6 separate regions of the Homo sapiens genome follow, and all the other regions are linked to region 1. The links are contacts of gene promoters, found by promoter capture Hi-C in blood cells and fetal thymus (Javierre and others, 2016). All regions are on one chromosome and are shown on one strand. The core of a region is centred on a gene start or on the middle of the fragment in contact, and the rest is flanking DNA. Distances in the headings are between cores, read along the strand shown. Region 1 holds the start of GOPC (golgi associated PDZ and coiled-coil motif containing). Region 2 has its middle 110 kb from the start of CEP85L. Region 3 holds the start of NT5DC1 (5'-nucleotidase domain containing 1). Region 4 holds the start of TSPYL1 (TSPY like 1). Region 5 holds the start of RWDD1 (RWD domain containing 1). Region 6 overlaps CEP85L (centrosomal protein 85L).

Region 1 (2,884 bases), core at 115-2,614:
GCCTAGTTAGAAAGTACTCTTTATGCAATAATGTTAATCTATCTTGATTTCTAAATATTTTAATAATGTCCTTTTTAAATTTTCTGCACAATATGATATTTTTGTTTTTTTGAACCACAGCCACTCCACCCTCACCCACACCCAGGATCAGAGATTAAAGCAAATGATTCTTTACACTCTCTCAAAAATAAATCCAGACTTTGGAAAATTACACAGTAATGTACAAGCATATAAAAACTCAAGGTCAGAAGTAATTTCAATAATTGCAGGGAGCTCTCTGGAGGTATCTGCCTGTAATTTAACAACCAACTATGGATGTAAACCGAGACAGTGATACTATCGTTATGCACCACGAAATTTTCCTAAGAGCTTTGATCAGATTCCCCTAAATAGTTTATGCATGTCTCTGTATGCAATCATAGGCGCTGACCTGGAATAATTAAAATGAAAATAATCAGTGCTGTATCTGTCTTAACATATACAAATTCGGTTTATCAATGTGAAAGCAGATCTGCAAAACTCAGTTGTCAAAAGGTGGCCTACGGTATTTTCATGACAGAGAATCTTTGTTAGGTTTGTTAATGTAACATGTGCAATGGAGGCTGGTGTATGTAATTAGTTTCCTCCTCAGAGAGATACTAGGAAGGTGGACGACAGTACCCCGGGAACTCACACGTCGGTCTAGGGCCCTTTTTGTCCCCCACCCTCACCTCACTCCTCAGACATGCACTCTCCCATCACATTTGAAGCCCCGGTGGGCAGTTTTCTAGGGTCGTTTCACTGGAGCGTTAAATGGCATCTGACGCCACCGGGCAGCCTGGGGTTGGATGCCATAGCCGCCAGCACCCACGGCTCACCTCCAGCTTGTGGTTGATTTGAGACACAGACTGGGCTTTGTGGCAAAGCTGTGCAAAGCAGGAGCTCAGGCTGGTCATCTTCTGTCGCCCCTCATAAGTGATGTCCGCTTGGTCTGGATCGATCTCTCCCAGGAGCAGATCCACATCCACAAAAGCTTTGTCGAACTCCTTCTCCAGCACCTCCAGCCACCGGAACATGGATACCCCGCCAGGGGCCCCCACGGAGCAGGAGGCGCCCCCTGGGCCCCCTCCGGCTGCTGCTGGGCATGGACCGCCCGCCGACATGGCGCCGTCAAGGGCCTCTCCCGACTGCTGAAGACCCTCGCCGCCCCCCGCGCACGAAGGGAACTGCTGGGACTGAGGGGACCCCCGCGCGCGCGGGCACACTCCGTCACCTCCCTTCACCTCGCGCCGTTAACGCCAGCAGCACAGTCACAGAACCGCAGGAGTAACGAGGCTGAAGCTGAGGCGGCAACGGCGGCGACACACGGAAGACTCAGTCAGTCCCACCTCCCAGCCTGCCCCCGCTGCGCATGCGTAGCGAAGAGCTGGGCGGACGCAGCCACGAGGGACAAAATAGGCGGGGACAGGATGCGATCTTGGCCTATGAAAGGCCTCAGCTTGGGAGCGGCCTGTCAGCGGCCATATTAACAACTGGCAAACTACGGCTTGAATCCCTGAGAAACGGAGGCGCGTGGTTTCTGCACCCTGGTTGGAAAGGCCCGAGGATGAGAAAGGTGTCCACGTCGCAGAAAGGAAGGATTTCCGCCGGTTTGACTTAACAGTTGGCGGGAGCCGTTCCAAAATCCTCCCAGAAAGTTGCTGCGGTGGCATCTAGGGTCAGGGAGGGGAGAGCAAGGAAGGGCGGTGTGAGCATGCGCAATAGCCACGTTTTTACCTTCTCGATTCCAGTTCCTGGATAGGATGGAGTGGGTGTACACACTGGCTGTTCTTGGTAAACCAGACCCCAAATTCCAGGTGTGGACTGCCTAAAGCTGCGCATTGAAGCGGCTGACCAGATTTTGCGGAATTAATAGAAGACTTTTTGTCTTGTGATTAAGAGTCAGGTAGACCTGGATTCAATTCTTACCCTCTGTCACATACTACCTGTGTCGCCTTTCATGTATTAACCTCGAAACCAAGTTTCCAAATTTTACTTAACTCAGTTGTAAGGTAAAACGCTTAGCGTCACTTCTTGGCACACGGTATTCCTCTTAATACACCATAGGTCACACATTTCAAAAGCAACTACAGTAGTGCTTCACTTAAGATGGGGATATGTTCTTAGGAATGTGTCCTTAGGTTAATCATCCCTTAGGGAACATCCTAGAGTGTATTTAAACACAAACCTAGATAGTATAGCCTACTACACACCCAGGCTATATGATGTAGCCTATTGCTCTTAGGCTGTAAACCTGTACAGCATGTTGCCATTCTGGATACGGTAGGCGATTATAACACAGTGGTAACTATTTGTGTACTTAAACATATCTAAACATAGAAAAGGTACAGTCATATACTCTTATAGGATCACCATAGTTTATGCGATCCATTCATTGCTGAAGCCTTGTTATTTGGCACATAACTGTACTTTAAAAGGTGTATTTATTTGAAAACTGGTAGTGTCCTCACACGTGACATTTCAGAAAATCAAAATTGTGAATTCATATATTTACAAATATATTGAATGCAGAGCTCTGTTGCGACATTGAAGACACAAAAATGAATGAGACATGACCCTTACTCAAGATAGGCTAGTGAGGCTACTACCCCTCAACTATAACTTTAACTTGAATTTTTCAGTGCCTTTAAAAGTATCCAGCAACTCCTCTCTTTACATTCTGCCTACTTCCAGTTCAAGGGTAGACAGTCCTAGAAAGGGAAAGAGAAACCTGTGTGATTAGAGTAGGCTGGTGGAAACTCCTGCATTACCTAGAAGCATATTTAGCTGAGTGCAGTCTGCTGTTATCTGTTCTTGGGGCAGACCCTTACGGTTAATCACAACCCAAAGCCTGCATTGTGTGCCC
Region 2 (3,153 bases), core at 179-2,678, 1.2 Mb after region 1:
ATTCTTCAAAACCTATAAAGCCTTGATTAAATATATGGTCTGCATTGTATTTGGAGGCTGAATATTGTAGTATAATATAGCATACCACTGTGGTATAATGCTGTAGTATATAGTATAGTATACTATCTAGTAGTAATAAGGGGTAAAAATGTAATGTGTTCTGAATTAGCATGGATTTTTATCTTTGATTTTGGATCTTTTGCTCTGAATAGCAAAAATCAAGGGTGTTCTATTATGGTTTTAAATGGCTTTTATACCTCCTAAAATGTGATCCCATTATTTTAGGGTTTCACATCTAAAATAGGCCTCTTTCTCTTGCAGTTTACTCAGACACTCCTATCTTTCGAATTTTTTAAATTACACTTGGAATCTGGAAATAATGTCTAGCCCCTTTTAGAATGAATTCCAGTTTAAAATAAATGATTACACTCAAGAGAAAGAAATCTGTTGAGCAATGACAATGAATTTGTTTTGCGCTGCAGTCAGGTGCCCAGTATTTTGACAAATGCTGGTTCATAGAACACAGCTTCCCGTGCATGGAGAGTTCCTGTTTCTGGCCATGCAGAGGGATCTGTGGTGGTGTCACTCACTGAAGAAACACTAAAGGAAGAACAGATTTGGGGGTAAAATTCACAAGCTTCAAAAGTATTGAGGTTGAATAGTCTTTTTTATATCCTTGTAGAGACTCCAGTAGGCAGGTTAGTAACCAGGTTGGAGTAGAGAGATGTCTGGGAGAACTATTTACACTGGAAGTTTCCCATATCCCAGGCAGAATGGATCATACCTTCTCCTGTGCTCCCATATCTTTTTTCATCCAAATGGTATTGGTTGGCCTCTGCCATTGTAAGTTTTCCTTTCTCTGTCTTTTATTCTATGTATTAGTCCAGAATCTATAAGGAACTTAAACAAATCAACAAGTAAAAAACAAATCTCCCATAAAATTCGGCAAAGGGCATAAACAGACACTTCTCAAAAGAAGACATACAAGCAGCCAACAAACATATGAAAAAATGCTCATTGTCACTCATCATCAAAAAATGCAAATCAAAACCACAATGACACAATGAGATACCATCTCACACCAGTCAGAATGGCTTTTATTAATAAGTCAAAAAAAAGAACATATACTAGCAAGGCTGCGGAGAAAAGAGAAGGCTTATTCACTGTTGGTGGGAATGTAAATTAGTTCAGCCACTACAGAAAGCAGCTTGGAGATTTCTTAAAGAACTTAAAACAGAGATACCATTTGACCTAGCAATCCCATTACTGTGTATACCCAAAGGAATATAGATCATTGTACCAAAAAGACACATGAACTCGTATATTCATTGCTGTTCTATTCACAATAAAAAAGGCATGGAATCAACTAGGTGCCCATCAATAGTGGATTGGATAAAGAAAATGCGGTACATATACACCATGAAATACTATGCAGATGGAAAAAAGAATGAAATGATGTCCTTTGCAGGAACGTGGATGGAGCTGGAGGCCATTATCCTAAGCAAATTAACATAGGAACAGAAAACCAAATACTACATGTCCTCACTTGTAACTGGGAGTGAAACATTGAGCACACATGGACATAAACATGGGAACAATAGACACTGTGGACTATTAGAGGCACGAGGGAGGGAGAGGGGCGTGGATTGAAAAACTACTGTTGGGTGCTATGCTCATTACCTGGGTCCAATATCCCCATGTAACAGTCCTACACTGGTACCCCCCATATCTAAAATTAAAGCTGAAATTTTAAAACAAAAAAACAACCAAATTACCACAAATTCAGTAGCTTAAATCAACACTATTTATGTTATAGTTCTGGAGGTCAGAAGTCCACAATGGGGCAACAGTCTGGTTCCTTGTGAAGACTTCAGGGACAATCTGTTTCTCTGTCTTTTCTAGTTTCTAGAGGCCGCCTCTATCCCTTGGTTTATGTCCCCTTATCACGTCGACCTCTGTCTCTGTCATCACATCTCCTTCTCTGACTTGGGCCCTTCTGCCTTTCCTCTGTAAAGACCCTTGTGAATATATTAGGCCCATGCAGATAATTCAGGAAAAATCTCATCATCTCAAATTCCTTGATTTAATTGCATCTGCAAAGTTGCTTTTGCTATGCAAAGAAACATAGTCACAGGTTCTGGGAACTAAGATGTGGACATCCTTTAGGGGCCATTGTTCTGCCTCCCACACCTTATCTACTTGGTTATTTGTAAGTCTAGATAAGCTTCCCTGCTCTGGGGTCCTAACTGACTCAGTTTGCATCCTCCCTCTGTGTTCAACATAGTACATGGTAGGCACTCCGCACATATTATTGGAACTTACTAAAGAGCCCAGGTATGGGGTGAGGCGCTAGACTAGAATGATAGTGTTAGGGGGAAAGGAGGCTAGAGAGGACGTTTGTGGCATCTGAAGGAACCAGCGATAAGACCCTCTCTGTGCCAAGAATCAGTGATGAAAGACTGAGCTGACTGGAGGACTGTGTCCTGTCTCGATGACGGGGATGGGACTAGGAGCAGGCATGAACCAAGGTAGTTGAATGAAATGCTTTAGAAAGTACTTGCCCTCCTGATGTGCCTCATGTGTGCCTCAATGTGTAAAACCCATTTTACAAAAGATTGTAAAATGTTTTAAATAGGAGAATTTTGGTGAAATACTAGGCAACCACTGTATGATCCCACTTGGGAATATCCTATCCTAGGTGAACACATTCAGTAAGGCAACCAAGCAATTCCAAAGCTCTATGTTAGGCCAACAAGAAGGGGGCCAGCAGATTTTTAGATAAATGAGAACTGGCCAATCTGCAGACGCTCTCAGTTGAGAGTTCAAGAAGCAGAGGATCAAAGAAATAAAGTACTCATCCCCTGCCAGTGGTTGGAGCTGCTGGGAAGATAACCTTGCCCAGGCCCGGAGGTCCCAGAACTAGCAGCTCCGCTCAGCCTCTTCCATGGTGTTTAACTCCAACTATCTAGCAATTATTTGACAGGTAACATCCCTTAGAAAGGCTGATTCTAGTGTACTGATTGTATTCCTAGTTAAAAGGACCACACACCTTCAAAGCTTGGACCTGAAAAACACCATCCCTTGTATCAAGATGGTAGGAACCGGAAGGTTATGCCATATTTCAGTTCGACTGTGGCACCCTCGCCATAAGCA
Region 3 (2,892 bases), core at 392-2,891, 1.5 Mb before region 1:
TTGTAAGGAGAAGTTTTTGCTAAGTCAACAAAAAACAATCCTTTTATACTCTTCCCTCTTACAATGAATGTACTAGTACATTTGTATTACTAAGGGAAGTCCCTAAAGTACCTAAAGCACCTACTCCCACATGAAACAAGATATTCCCCAAGGAAACATGTGCCCTTCAATGTGGCATGCACCTGGAAGTTTGACTTTGGTAGCATTCTATTGCAAGGTGCAGAGGAGAATGCCAAGGTCAATGCTCCAGGGCCAACAAGCTTTTTCCAGCCTCTCCAACAATCCAGCCTTTTCTCTTTTGGTTCACAGACATTGAAAACATGATTGTTGGACTCATCAGTGAACAGCTTAATCTTCTTGAAGATTCTTTACTTTTCCTATTCCAGAGAGATTTGTTTGGGGCTTTTAAGTGTTATAATGGAACAAGTTATCAATTTTATTCAAATGGGTCTACTAGGTATAAGTGTCCTCCTACTCAATTGTACTATCTATTGCACTAAATTAATCCTCTGATTGGTCTATTAGCCTCAGAAGGATTAGTATTTGAAAGGGTTAAATGCAGTTCTCAATCAATTATATTTTCATTATGTCACGACTATTGATTTGTCCCATTAGACACATTGTTCCTTTAAATTGAGAACTGAAGCAGTGTAAACATAATAGATTTGTATTTTCTTTTTAAAATGAGGTACTATGTAATAAAGATCTCAAAGTGCTAGTCCTTCACATCCGGAAATCAGGAAGAGAATTAAATGCCCTAAGGCATACATTGTATGTAATGGATTAACTTTCTCTGCATCTAAAATGGTAGTAGTTATACAGTTCTTGAGAGAATTAAGCAAATGTCACTCAAAACATTTTGTGCTCTATAAACCTTAAACCCGGTTTGCAAAAGTTTTTTGTAGTATGCTCTATATATTTCTATGAAGTTTCTGATGCCCTTTCATAAAAAATTCATTACAATAACAAAATAGGATTATCAAGTAATAACCAATATTGGTTTCCATAACAAGTATCATCTTGCAAAATGGTTCTTCACGATGTCTGATACATTTATTTTCTAACGCACTCCAGGGTATGAAATAGTGAAAGGTCTGTCTTCCACTTAACCACTTAGGAAACCAAGGAATATAAAGTTTTTGGTTTAAACCACTATCAAAGATCACGTGGGTGAAAAGACCTTCCAAATTGTAGGCTAACTGGGTCAGAGGGATATTAGCGGATGAATTTTTTCTATGATCTTACTATTCCTCACACAGGGGTAAAAGGTCAGGTCTAACCTCATGATCTCCTGGTTTCCGAGGCGCCCTGAGGCGATGGAGTGTCCCGGTTAATTTTGTGGTAGCCCTCGGGAAAGGCTACGTGCCTACAGGTCTCAGCTGTGCAGCAGCGGCACCGCTCCTGGACCCCTACTGCCTTCTGGGCTCCTAGGCTTGCGGAACAGATCAGGAGTCGCCGGCATTGGGGTACCAGGAGGACGCGAGCTGACTACCTGACTCCGGGCGGCGCAGGACGCCCGCCGCGCGAGGGGCGGGGGCTAAGCGTATCGAGGGGCGGTGCTCGAGGGCGCGGGAGGCGGGAGAGGCTGCCGCGCCGTGTGCCCTGGCAGCCGCAGCCCCGCCCCGCCGCGTCCGGCCCGGTCCTGTCCCGCAGCGTCCCGCCAGCCAGCTCCTTGCACCCTTCGCGGCCGAGGCGCTCCCTGGTGCTCCCCGCGCAGCCATGGCTCAGCACTTCTCCCTGGCCGCCTGCGACGTGGTCGGATTCGACCTGGACCACACTCTGTGTCGCTACAACCTGCCCGAGAGCGCCCCGGTGAGTGGCGCGGGCTCCGGGGCGCACTGCGCGCAACCTCCATGGCGGCTGGGGCTTGAGTTTCCTCCAGGTTTGGGCAACGGCGGACGCTGCCCGGGGCCTGCGGCGGCCGAGTCTTGCCGCAGAGCGCGGCCTCCAGCGGCGAGAAGGGGCGGAAGTGTGCAGCCTCCGCTCCGCGCCGGTGCCGTGGGGACCGGCACATTTACCTCAGCCATTAGCTAATGTTGAGAGGGATAGGGAAGAACGAAGGAGGGGCAAACTGCGCAAGACCGGGCTGGGGAATCGGTGATTTCTAGGGCCGAGGAGGGGCGGGGTCAGGGGGACTAGGGCTGTCCTTGAAGATCTCACGTCGTGGAACTTTCTCTGCATGTCTTTCTGGACACCAGCTGATTGTGGACACAGCCACTTGATTTGGTACTTGCATTTTTTTTGGCTGCATTTTTCTGTTTGCACGATCAACCACCCATCAGTGTTTAAACTGCAATCTGGGAGAGATGCGTAGTATATAGTGTAGTGTATTGAAAGGAACACTAGTTGAAAAGTCATTAAGATCTTAGCCCTAGTTTTACCTTCTATCAAGAGAAGAAAATACATATTTATTGCGCATCGACTACGTGCTCCGTGCACTTTGAATACATTCCAGTCCTACCAACAGTCTGCGAAGTTTGGGTCCTCACTGTGCCCTGAGGGAGGGGGACATGGAGTATGCATGCTTCCAGACCTGTACACTCAAATTAATTGCCCTCCCTCCACTATTCCTTTGGTTTCCCAATTCCCAAGGAAACTAATTTTGAAAAGTTACCAGATTTTTTTAGTCCAAGATCTAAGCATCCAGACAGAAAAAGAGCTGGTTATGAGTACAGTGGTGAAAGCGAGGACTCCTCAGCCAGACTGCCTAGCTTAGGACACCAGCTCCACTGTTACTAGCTCTGTGACTTCGAGGAAGTTACTTAACCTGTGCTGCTTCTCAGTTTCCCCATCTGTAAAATGGAGCTAATAATTGGATTTACCTCACAAGATTGTTGCAAGGATTAAATGAGTAAGAGATGTATAATGCTTAGAATAGTACCTTGGCAAAGA
Region 4 (3,210 bases), core at 272-2,771, 1.3 Mb before region 1:
CAGCAAAAACAAAGCACAATAGAAGGCATACTCATTGCTGATGCCCAAGCACAGGTCCAGCAGAAGGTGGTAGGAGACCTTGTGCAGGAGTATTCCCAAGGGCAAATGTTAACCAGACTGGAACCCAAAGGGCCTGGGGATCTCTACAGGCTCCCTTAGCGGGCGACGTCGGGCTCTACGGACTCCTTCACGCAACAGGTAGTATTGCAGTGGATTTGGCCACAGATCCTCTTTAATAATCTCAGCAATTTTGTCGGACTCTGGAAGGCTGTGGTCTGAAAACCAAGTGAAGAAGCTGCAGATGAGGTCTTGGTTTCTGCGAATGAAGGACTGGGGTTCATGCCCCCTGCGCCATATAATTGGAGTAGAAAGAGACACCACTCGGCCGGAGGATCTTACCTCATATTCCTTGACAATCAGCTTGTTTCTGAAGTAGGGGTTTCTTCTAAAGAAGAACTTGAACTTGCAACCGGTTCTAGGGTGTCTGAGTTCCTTCACCTCTAAATTGGTTATGTACCTTAACATCTCTGCATCTTGGCCCCTAATCATGGCGGACAACTGGGGGTGGTTTCGAAAAGCAGTCATCCAGAAGCCCGGGATATTCTGAATGATGTAGTTCCTCCGCTCCAGGTAGTGTCGACGCATCCGCCCAAACTTGTGCTCCAGCTGTTGGAAGGCCCTGTCGGCCTGAGCATTCACAGTGTCCAGTTCCAGCTGGATGGCCTCCAGAGGGTCCATGCGGAGAGCCTCATGCAAAGGCCAGGGCCCTTCTTCCTCCCTCGCCTCCTCCTCCAATCTATCCTCCTCCGCCACTTCTATTTCTTCACCTTCTGGCGGCTGCTCCTCTACCTCCATCTGCTCCTCCATTACCTCCTTCTCCGCCAGGCCTTCCTTCACCACCTCAGCGCTCTCCCTCTCAGCCACGGCTGCTGAGACGGTGGCGCACTTTCCTGTCTTCACCTCCTCCGCCTCAGCCTCCGCCCCCGCCGTCAGCTCAGACGCGGATCTCTGGGCGCCACAGATTTCTAGGGCCTTCTCTCCACCCTGAACGCCCTTTTTCAGGCTGCGGTCGGCTGCCATCACCACAGAAGCGGCTGCCAGGCCTTCGGCGGGAGGCTGGCCCTCTTCCTGCCCGGCTTTGATCGCCACATGACCGCGACCCCCAACAACTCGGATCTGGGGAGTACCGCCACGGCCCGCGGCATCCTGGGGTACGCCCCCCTCCTCTGAAGGCGGTGGAGGCGGGAGCGCGACGGTCTCCGAGCCTCCCTCACCCGGCTCCGCCATCACCTGTGTCGCCTCGCTTTGGTCGCGGAGCCTCAGGTACTGGTGTGCGTCCTGGTCGCTCGGGACTTGGTCAGAAATAATGATGCTGTGGGTTTGGAGGGGAGTGGTCCTCTTGACCCCATCCAGGCCGCTCATGTTGCTAACAGTCGGACCAACCGCAGGCGAACGCCCGTTTTCCTCAGAGGCCGAACTGGGAGCTAACCGCCGCTCGCACCGCCCACCCTACAGTCTCACTAACATTTCAGCGGCGGTGTCGTCAGGACTGGAGATCTCACGGTATCGCGAGAACTTGCTGAGCCCGGGATTGGTTCCGCCGCTCCCTGCCAGCCAACCGGATTCTCTGGGCTTTATTTCTGTGAATTTACCCATAGCAACAGTAATTTTACCTACGTAAATAAATGTCGATTGTGCTGAGTCTGGAAGCGCGGACGACCCACCTTGAGATGCATCTAGCGACTGCTCCCAGCATGTAGGAGCAGTTGTAAAATCACAGCCGTAACAGTGCCTGCTCTCCAGTGTCTGAAAACAAATGTTTTTCTGGTCTTCACTTTTTTGAGGCAGGAAGGTAAATCTATTCCCTGTTACTCCACGTAACTAGCAGCAAAAGACTTCTCTTTAAGATTAATAGCAAAATGTTTCCCCCCTTCTTAGTAAAAGTGACATAAAAATATCAATTCTTGCCTCTACGGTTACTGGGGAAAAAAAGCTACTCAGCAGCCTCTTACCACTAAAGCGATGCATAGTATTCATTGCTAATTTTCGATTTATAATCTGCATCAAATAAGAGTTTGTGCTGCATAGTATCGGTAGAAATTAAGCCAGGATCAGTTTGCTAAATGTTCCATGCCTTTTCACTGCAAGAAAGAGGAAATTATAACTATTTCCAGCCCCAAGAACTTAATTTATTATCATATTTAGTTATGTAAGATAGGAATGTTTGGCTCTAACGAAGCATCTGTCTTTAGCAATCAGCTGAGTTCATTAGAGGGGGATGTCAATGTCTCTGGTTGAAGTGTTCCAGTTTGTTGACTTGTGAGTTAAACTGGTGCTGTCTTAGAGAGCTACAAGGCCTCAGAGAAATATCAGTGGGGGGAGCCACATACCACCATTTTGTGAGGAAAGGCTAGTTAAAATGGACAACTAAGATGGCCTTGAAGTAGAAAACAAACTTGCAAAGGGCAACATGCAGCTGGTGGACTCAAGGTATAAAAGAGGCAAACGTTATTTTCTACTTAATTTGCTTTGTGTGGTAGTAGCCTGATGGCCCTCAAAGATGTACCTGTCTTAGTTATGCGGCCAAAGGGACTTCGCAGATATGATTAAGTTAAAGATTTGGAGATGAGAAGATGATTCTGGATTATACAGGTGGGCCCTATGGAATTACAAATTTCTTATAAGAAGGAGGCAGGAGGGTCAGTCAGAGAAGATAAGAGGACGAAAGCACAGAGAGAGGGAAGGAATGGTGGAGAATAGGTGTGGGAGGGAGGAAAGGGAAATCGCTATGTTGCTGGCTTTGAAGATGGAGGAAGGAGCCAGGATCGTAGGAATAAAGGCAGCCTCTAGAAGCTTGAAAGGTAAGGAAATAGATTCAATCCTAGAGCCTCCAAAGGAATGACAACACCTTGAGGTTATTACCTCTAAACTCCAGCACTATAAGAAAATAAATTTGTGCATTTTAAGCTATTAAATTTGTGGTAATTTGTTACAGAAGCAATATGAAATGAATACACCTTGGATTAAGGTTTGGTTGCATCTATGGGTGCCTCAAGTTGTTTCTAATAGCAGCCCCTTCTACCTTGCTCATGGCTTCCCGTGAGTTCCTGCCCAACAGCTGTGATGTATTACAGCTTGAATCTGTCTTTCAATATCAAGACCAGAAATATACTTAGGCAAATGCACAGAAAGACAAAATTAAAGCCTAAA
Region 5 (3,266 bases), core at 185-2,684, 1.0 Mb before region 1:
AAAAAAAATGAGCAACTTATACTTGCAAAGTTACTTTATGTATTTTATTTGATTGTCATCATAGTTAGGAGACTCCACTTTTTCATTAAAGTTTAAAAGAACGCCTGAAATCAACCCTTAATACCGTAAACACGGAATCAGTATCAAAGTGTTCCTCTGCTATAGGTAAGCAGCACTCCTCAATAAAAGATCAAGGTGCCTTCTGGTGCTTCAGGGGCTTCATCATTAGGAATCTTTCATTTAAAAAGTGTTCCTCCCACTATACCAGTGAAACCAGCTTTAATACAGAGAAATCAAAACAAAGAAAAATACAGAAAAGTGGGCAACAGCTTTTGAGTATTTTCTTAAAATTTTCCATTTTTCGACTTAGCGCAATAATATAATAAAGGAACATGGGATCCTTTATTATTGTTACCATAGTTTTTAATATCATTTTCATAAAGCTAACCATGTTTATTTAGCCATTTTCTTAGCTTTTGCCATCATGGTTCTTTGAAAATTTTCTTTGTAATTGCTGCAATGATTTTGGAGATCACAGATGCATGCTACTTGCTCAAGTTTATTCTTGGAAGTCGTATTACCAAATTAAAGGTTCTCAACATTTCTCGGGGTACTGCAATTTTTACATTGCATATGATAATTGTTATTACTGAGATCTACATTCCTTTCATCAATTCACAAATACACAATCACAGACATCTTGAGATCTATCATACGTCCAGCTGCGTTCATTTCACAAAATCAGAAGTTAAGCCTAAAGATCTGAACCGAGAAGCCGGACCTCCGGTCTATTTCTCCCTCCTGGATCCACCCCGACTTATTAAGCAGTTAGACCGACCCTTCCATACTCATTCAAGGCAGTGCAGAGCTTTTGCTCCCCTGCCCAGTGGAATCTACACTGGTCCCAGCCTCTCGTCCAACTCCCGTAGGACGCCAAGCAATACGGAGTTCGAGAAGCTCAGAAATCTCCTGAGCCCCACCAGTCCACACTAGGTTGCAAGCCCGCAGCACCTACGCCACGGCGTCAAACCGGAAACCAGAAAAGGTGAAGGCATCGGACGCCCCTCGCCCCAGCCCGGCCACCAGCGACACTATCCTTCACTGACGCGCGATGCCGGCCTTTCAGCCCAGACTCATCGAGCGAGGATGCAGCGCTGAGAGGCTTCTAAGGCTCAGGCCCTGCAAAGCCCAGGAGCCGGCTGTAGGTGTCCTTGGCGAATGCCAGACCGCGCGCACCGTCCCAGCAAGTCCCGAGCGAGTGTGGGACAGGCAGCAAATCAGTGCCCCCTGGCCAGGCAGAACGAGTCGAACGTGGAAGTAGGGAGCAGGCGGAGGCCGGCGCGGAGCTGCAGTTAAGCAAGCCGGGTCTGGCTTTGGGCCCTGGGCCTTCCAGCCGGGGACTCTGCGCCTGCGCCCGCCTGGCCGCCGCCCGCTCTCCCGGCGCGGCAGCTGTCTGGGCTGCTGCGCGCCGCCTAGGTGTCTGGGCGATCTATGGGCAAGAGCAAGGGCCACGATGACAGATTACGGCGAGGAGCAGCGCAACGAGCTGGAGGCCCTGGAGTCCATCTACCCTGACTCCTTCACAGGTGACTCCCGCGGCCGCAAGCCTGTAGCCGCCCCGAGGTGGAGTAGGACGGGCAGGAGCTGCCGCAGCTCTGGGCCTCATAGGTTGGGGTGGAGAAGGGGACCTTGAGGCCGCGCGGCCACCTTGCCCTCCACTCCTCAAGTTCTTCAGTCACTTACCAGCAACCCAGTGACTTTTTCTCCTTCTCTGCTTGTTCCCGGAAATCTAAAAGTCCGGGTGATGTTGGAGGGTGTCAGGCCTGAAAATTGAGTCGGGATTACTTTGGTTTCTGTGTAACCTACAGCAACCTGAGATTTATAATACATTAAGAGAAAAAATACTCCAAGTGCGATTCGTTTTTCCACAGCCGCAAGAATGTTAGTTTTCACATTTTTAGCTTTATTAAGGTAGAAACTGTTTTTCATACGATGCTGTTTTAGTTTATAGGATTCAGAGTGCTGTTTTCAGTTACTCAAATCGGTTTTGAGAGTAGCATAGTCCCTGAAGTCTGTCGGGTTTCTTTTCTTATGAAAAAAAAAAAAATCTGGCATTCAGCAGAATGCCTAATGGATAATGTGGCCCAAATTTCCGTTCTGCTATAAATTCATAGGTTGTTAGATTGGAAGGGAGATTAAACATCATCTATCCTGGGGCTCCTGCTCCAAGCCAAGGTCATGGGGGTTCAGGAAAGCTAAGTGGCTTGCTCTGTACTGTCCGCCAGCGAGTTAGCGGCAGGGCTGGTACTGAGTTATACGTCCAGAACGCTTGCCTGTTCTTTCACTTTCCAGACATATGGGACTTGGGATTCAGCTCCAGCTGAGATTGAGAGAGCAGAAGATTACTTGGTAGGTTGGGCTAATGTAAAATATTATAATGAGAAGTTCATTAGGTATAATTTAGAGGACGAGATTTCTCTATTAAGCCATGCTTCGGATGATTATAAAAATGCTACATAACTATATCAATATGGCTCCTCTGAGATTTGAGAAGCGGTCAAATAAAGCCAATATGAGTGAGTAGAACCTAGGTGTGTGCATTTACATTCCCCATCCTTTCCTTTGAGTGTTGCCTATCGTTGATAGTCAGAATTTATAGTGTAAGGTATATTACTTTAACTTATAAATTCCAACCCCTCTCCCTTTCATTGTTTAGCTTAGTTTTCTTGGCTTCACCTTTTGACCACTGCTTGCAATGGTAGCAAATTTTGTTCTGCTTTGCCAACAGGCAGATGTCTCTCAGCTATCCCTGTATAGCTCCAGTCCTGTTCATGTTCTCTCTCACCAGCAGTACATCTGTGCTGTGAGGATGTTAAGGGGATGAGTGAAGAGGGGTTTGAGAGTGTCATTAACTGGGTGAGTGTGTATGGAGTCTGGCTCCCTTCTCTATCCTTGCTTATATGTGTATGTCTAAAATAGAATATAGGGTCAGTTGTTGGATATATTCTTAATCATGTTTGGTCATTTCCAGTACTTTGGAAACATACTAGGTATGAACACTGTAGGCAGAGTCAAGACAGCAGGATGTGCTATTCTTTTCATTTCTTTGGACATAAGCTATCCCTCGCTAAATCCTATGCATATAAGCATTTATAAAACTGATATCTTTTTTTGTTTTTAACCCTGAAATAATCTTGTGGGTATTTCAAATTGTACTAGGCCCTGACAGCTCTGGTATAGTTCGCTATGTGAAATTCTTATCAGAT
Region 6 (3,261 bases), core at 730-3,229, 1.0 Mb after region 1:
AAATGGTCTAAATATACCAATTAAAAGATAGAAATTGGCACAGCAGATTGATGAGAAACCACGTCCCAACTATGCCGTTACAAGTCATTTACCTCAAATAATAACATAGATAGGTTGTATGTAAAAGGATATAAAACATATGCCATGTGAACATTAATGAAAAAAGCGTGTTAGCTATATTAACATCAGATAAAGTAAGCTTTGGAGAAAATAAAATTACCAAAGACAGAGAGGGACATTATATAATGATAAAAGGGCCGACAGACCAAGAAGTAATAGCAATTCTAAATGTCTACACACCAAACAATGTGGCTGCAATATATAAAGCAAAAACACAGAAATAAAAAAATACACAAATCTATAATTATATTTGTAGACTTTCAAACACTCCTCTTTCAACAACTGATAGAAAAACTAGACAGAAAATCATCAAGTATACAGAACTCAACATAAACAAGATCTAATCAACATTTATAGGACACTCCCCCACTACAACAGCAGAATACACATTCTTTCCAAGTACCCACAGAACATACATCAAATATACCATACGGTGGGCCCTAAAACAAATGTCAACAAATTTAAAGGACTGAAATCACATGAAGAGTTTCTGGCTACAATGGAAAAAACTAGAAATTAATAACAGAAAGACAGCAGGAAAATCTCCAAACACTTTGAAACTAAACAACACACTTACAGTCCTGAGAAGCAAAGAGGAAGTCATAAGGCAAATAAAAAAAAAAACCACACTGAACTAAAATGAAAATATAAAATATCAAAATTTGTGGGACACAGCTAAAGCAGTTCTGAGAGGAAAATTTATAATAGCATATTTTAAAAGTGGCAAACGGCCAGGTGCGGTGGCTCACACCTATAATCCCGGCACTTTGTGAGGCCGAGGCGGGTGGATCATGAGGTCAGGAGATCCAGATCCTGGCTAACATAGTGAAACCCTGTCTCTACTAAAAATACAAAAAAAAAAAAAATTAGCCAGGCATGGTGACGGGTGCCTGTAGTCCCAGCTACTGGGGAGGCTGAGGCAGGAGAATGGTGTGAACCAGGAGGCGGAGCTGGCAGTGAGCCGAGACTGCACCACTGCACTCTAGCCTGGGCGACAGAGTGAGACTCTGTCTCAAAAAAAAAAAAAAGCGGGGGGGGGGGGGGGGGACTCTCAAATCAGTAATCTAATCTGCTAACAAGAACCTAGAAAAAAAGAAGAGTTCAACAGACCCAAAGCAGAAAAAAAGGAAGCAACAAAGAGCAGAAATTGCTGAAATTGAAAACAGAAAACAAATGAGAAAATTAATGTGATCAGGAGATGGTTCTTTGTAGAGATCAGTAAAATCAACAAACTGCTACCAAAACTGAAAAACAAGGCAGGAAGACACAAATTAACAATAACTGAAATGAGGCCAGGTGTGGTGGCTCACACCTGTAATCCCAGCACTTTGGGAGGTCGAGGCGGGCGGATCGCCTGAAGTCAGGAGTTTGAGACCAGCCTGACCAACATGGAGAAATCCCCTCTACTAAAAATACAAAAATTAGCCAGGAGTGGTGGGCCTGTAATCCCAGCTACTCAGGAGGCTGAGGCAAGAGAATCGCTTAACCCGGCGGGCAGAGGTTGCAGTGAGCCGAGATCGCGCCACTGTACTCCAGCCTGGGCAACAAGAGCAAAACTCCGTCTCGAAAAAAAGAAAGAAAAACAATAACTGAAATGAAACAGGAGACATCACCACATAGCCTGCAGACATCTAACAAATAATAAGAGAATGTTATAAACAATTCTACACACATAAACTTGATAATTTAGGTGAAATCAACCACTTCCTCTAAAAAACAAATGCAACGCATCCAATTTGAAACAGATAATTTGAATTACTTTATAACTATTAAGGAAATCGAATTCATAATTTTAAAATTTCAAAAATTAAAAATCTCTGGGCCCACTGGCCAGGTGCAGTGGCTCACGCCTGTAATCCTAGTACTTTGTGGGGCCAAGGCGGGTGGATCACCTGAGGTCAGGAGTTCAAGACCAGCCTGGTCAACATGGCAAAATCCTCTCTCTACTAAAACTACAAAGATTAGCCCGGCGTGGTGGCACACACCTATAATCCCAGCTACTCGGGAGGCTGAGGAAGGAGAATCGCTTGAACCCAGGAGTTGGAGGTTGTGGTGACCCGAGATCGCACCACTGCACTCCAGCCTGGGCAACAAGAGCAAATCTGTGTCTCAAAAAAAAAAAAAAAATTCTGGGCCCAGAGTGTTTCACTGAAAATTCTACCAAATGTATAAAAAAGAATCAGCACCATTCTATACAATCTCTTCCAAAAAATAAGAGAGAACATTTCCCCATTCATTTATAAAGGTATTATAGTATTAACCCTGATATCCAGAGAGTACCTGAGAAAAAAACTACAGGACAATATTCCTTATCGATACACGAAAACAATCCTTAACAAACTATAAACAAAATTCAGCAATATATAAAAAGAATTATATACCATGACCAAGTGGCGCTTATTCCAGGGATAAAAAGTTCGTTAAACATTTTTTAAATCAAGTAATAAAATGCACCACCATATCAACAAACTAAAGAAGAAAATCATAAATCAATTCATTGAGGAAAAAAAATTGACAACATCTAATACCTATTCATGATAAAAACCCTCTGCAAACTAGGAATAAGAAGTGCCCTCAAATTGATAAATGGTATCTACAAAAACCTACAGCTAACAGCTATACTACTGCTACTTAATAGTGAAAAGACTGAATGCTATATCTGTGTAATCAGAAACAAGGCAAGGATATCCACTTCTACTACTCATAAACATTGTGCTAGATTCTTCTAGTCACTGCAGTAAGTCAAGAGAAGAAAACAAAAGGCACACAAATCAGAAAGAAAAAACTCCTTATTTATAGACAATGTGATTGTCTACATTCAAAATTCCAAGGTATCTACCAAAACAAACTCTTAGAACTAATGCGTGAGTTCAGCAAGGTAACAAATACAAGATAAATATACAAAAAGCAAATGTGGCCGGGCGCAGTGGCTCACACCTGTAATCCCAGCACTTTGGGAGGCTGAGGCAGGTGGATCACCTGAGGTCAGGAGTTCAAGGACAGCCTGACCAACATGGAGAAACCCCGTCTCTATTGAAAATAAAAAAATTAGCTGGTGGTGGCACATGCCTGTAATCCCAGCTACTCGGGAGGCTGAGGCAGGAGAATTGCTTGGACCCCGGAGGTGGAGGTTGCAGTGAG

What was found. The method cuts DNA at HindIII sites, captures the fragments that hold promoters and counts their contacts. A CHiCAGO score of 5 or more calls a contact.
Region 2: a contact is called between a fragment that was not itself captured here and the fragment with the promoter of GOPC in region 1, in 1 of 17 cell types (neutrophils). The highest score is 8.5, in neutrophils.
Region 3: a contact is called between the fragment with the promoter of NT5DC1 here and the fragment with the promoter of GOPC in region 1, in 2 of 17 cell types (non-activated CD4 T cells and naive CD8 T cells). The highest score is 5.9, in non-activated CD4 T cells.
Region 4: the fragment with the promoter of TSPYL1 here is called in contact with the fragment with the promoter of GOPC in region 1 in 1 of 17 cell types (total CD8 T cells); the score reaches 6.5 in total CD8 T cells.
Region 5: a contact is called between the fragment with the promoter of RWDD1 here and the fragment with the promoter of GOPC in region 1, in 2 of 17 cell types (non-activated CD4 T cells and total CD4 T cells). The highest score is 6.6, in non-activated CD4 T cells.
Region 6: a contact is called between a fragment that was not itself captured here and the fragment with the promoter of GOPC in region 1, in 1 of 17 cell types (neutrophils). The highest score is 7.1, in neutrophils.

The regions. Positions count from the first base shown.
Region 1 is chr6:117,601,147-117,604,030 of GRCh38, forward strand. GOPC (golgi associated PDZ and coiled-coil motif containing) reads right to left here and starts at 1,365. Exons shown (of 9, transcript NM_020399.4): 1 at 858-1,365. The coding sequence starts at 1,142. It also overlaps the pseudogene NEPNP. RefSeq lists enhancers at 1,247-1,336, 1,467-1,756. The HindIII fragment of the contact is 3,398 bases long and covers 1,011-2,884 here.
Region 2 is chr6:118,764,441-118,767,593 of GRCh38, forward strand. No RefSeq gene overlaps it. Among named protein-coding and RNA genes, the nearest start is that of CEP85L, 110 kb to the left of the region's middle. The HindIII fragment of the contact is 1,587 bases long and covers 636-2,222 here.
Region 3 is chr6:116,099,212-116,102,103 of GRCh38, forward strand. NT5DC1 (5'-nucleotidase domain containing 1) reads left to right here and starts at 1,642. Exons shown (of 12, transcript NM_152729.3): 1 at 1,642-1,812. The coding sequence starts at 1,720. It also overlaps a transcript of FRK not described here. RefSeq lists enhancers at 1,302-1,824, 1,825-2,345 and a silencer at 1,458-1,717. The HindIII fragment of the contact is 3,203 bases long and covers 259-2,892 here.
Region 4 is chr6:116,278,409-116,281,618 of GRCh38, forward strand. It overlaps TSPYL1 (TSPY like 1), which reads right to left and starts at 1,522. Exons shown (of 1, transcript NM_003309.4): 1 at 1-1,522. The coding sequence starts at 1,422. The coding sequence ends at 109. It also overlaps a transcript of DSE not described here. RefSeq lists enhancers at 886-935, 956-1,225, 1,456-1,515. The HindIII fragment of the contact is 6,415 bases long and covers 1-2,851 here.
Region 5 is chr6:116,570,070-116,573,335 of GRCh38, forward strand. It overlaps RWDD1 (RWD domain containing 1), which reads left to right and starts at 1,435. Exons shown (of 7, transcript NM_015952.4): 1 at 1,435-1,586. The coding sequence starts at 1,514. RefSeq lists enhancers at 830-1,009, 1,040-1,369, 1,590-1,689 and a silencer at 1,410-1,489. The HindIII fragment of the contact is 4,586 bases long and covers 1-3,266 here.
Region 6 is chr6:118,611,527-118,614,787 of GRCh38, forward strand. All of the region lies in intron 2 of CEP85L (centrosomal protein 85L), which reads right to left. Among named protein-coding and RNA genes, the nearest start is that of CEP85L, 38 kb to the right of the region's middle. RefSeq lists a silencer at 387-587. The HindIII fragment of the contact is 3,565 bases long and covers 198-3,261 here.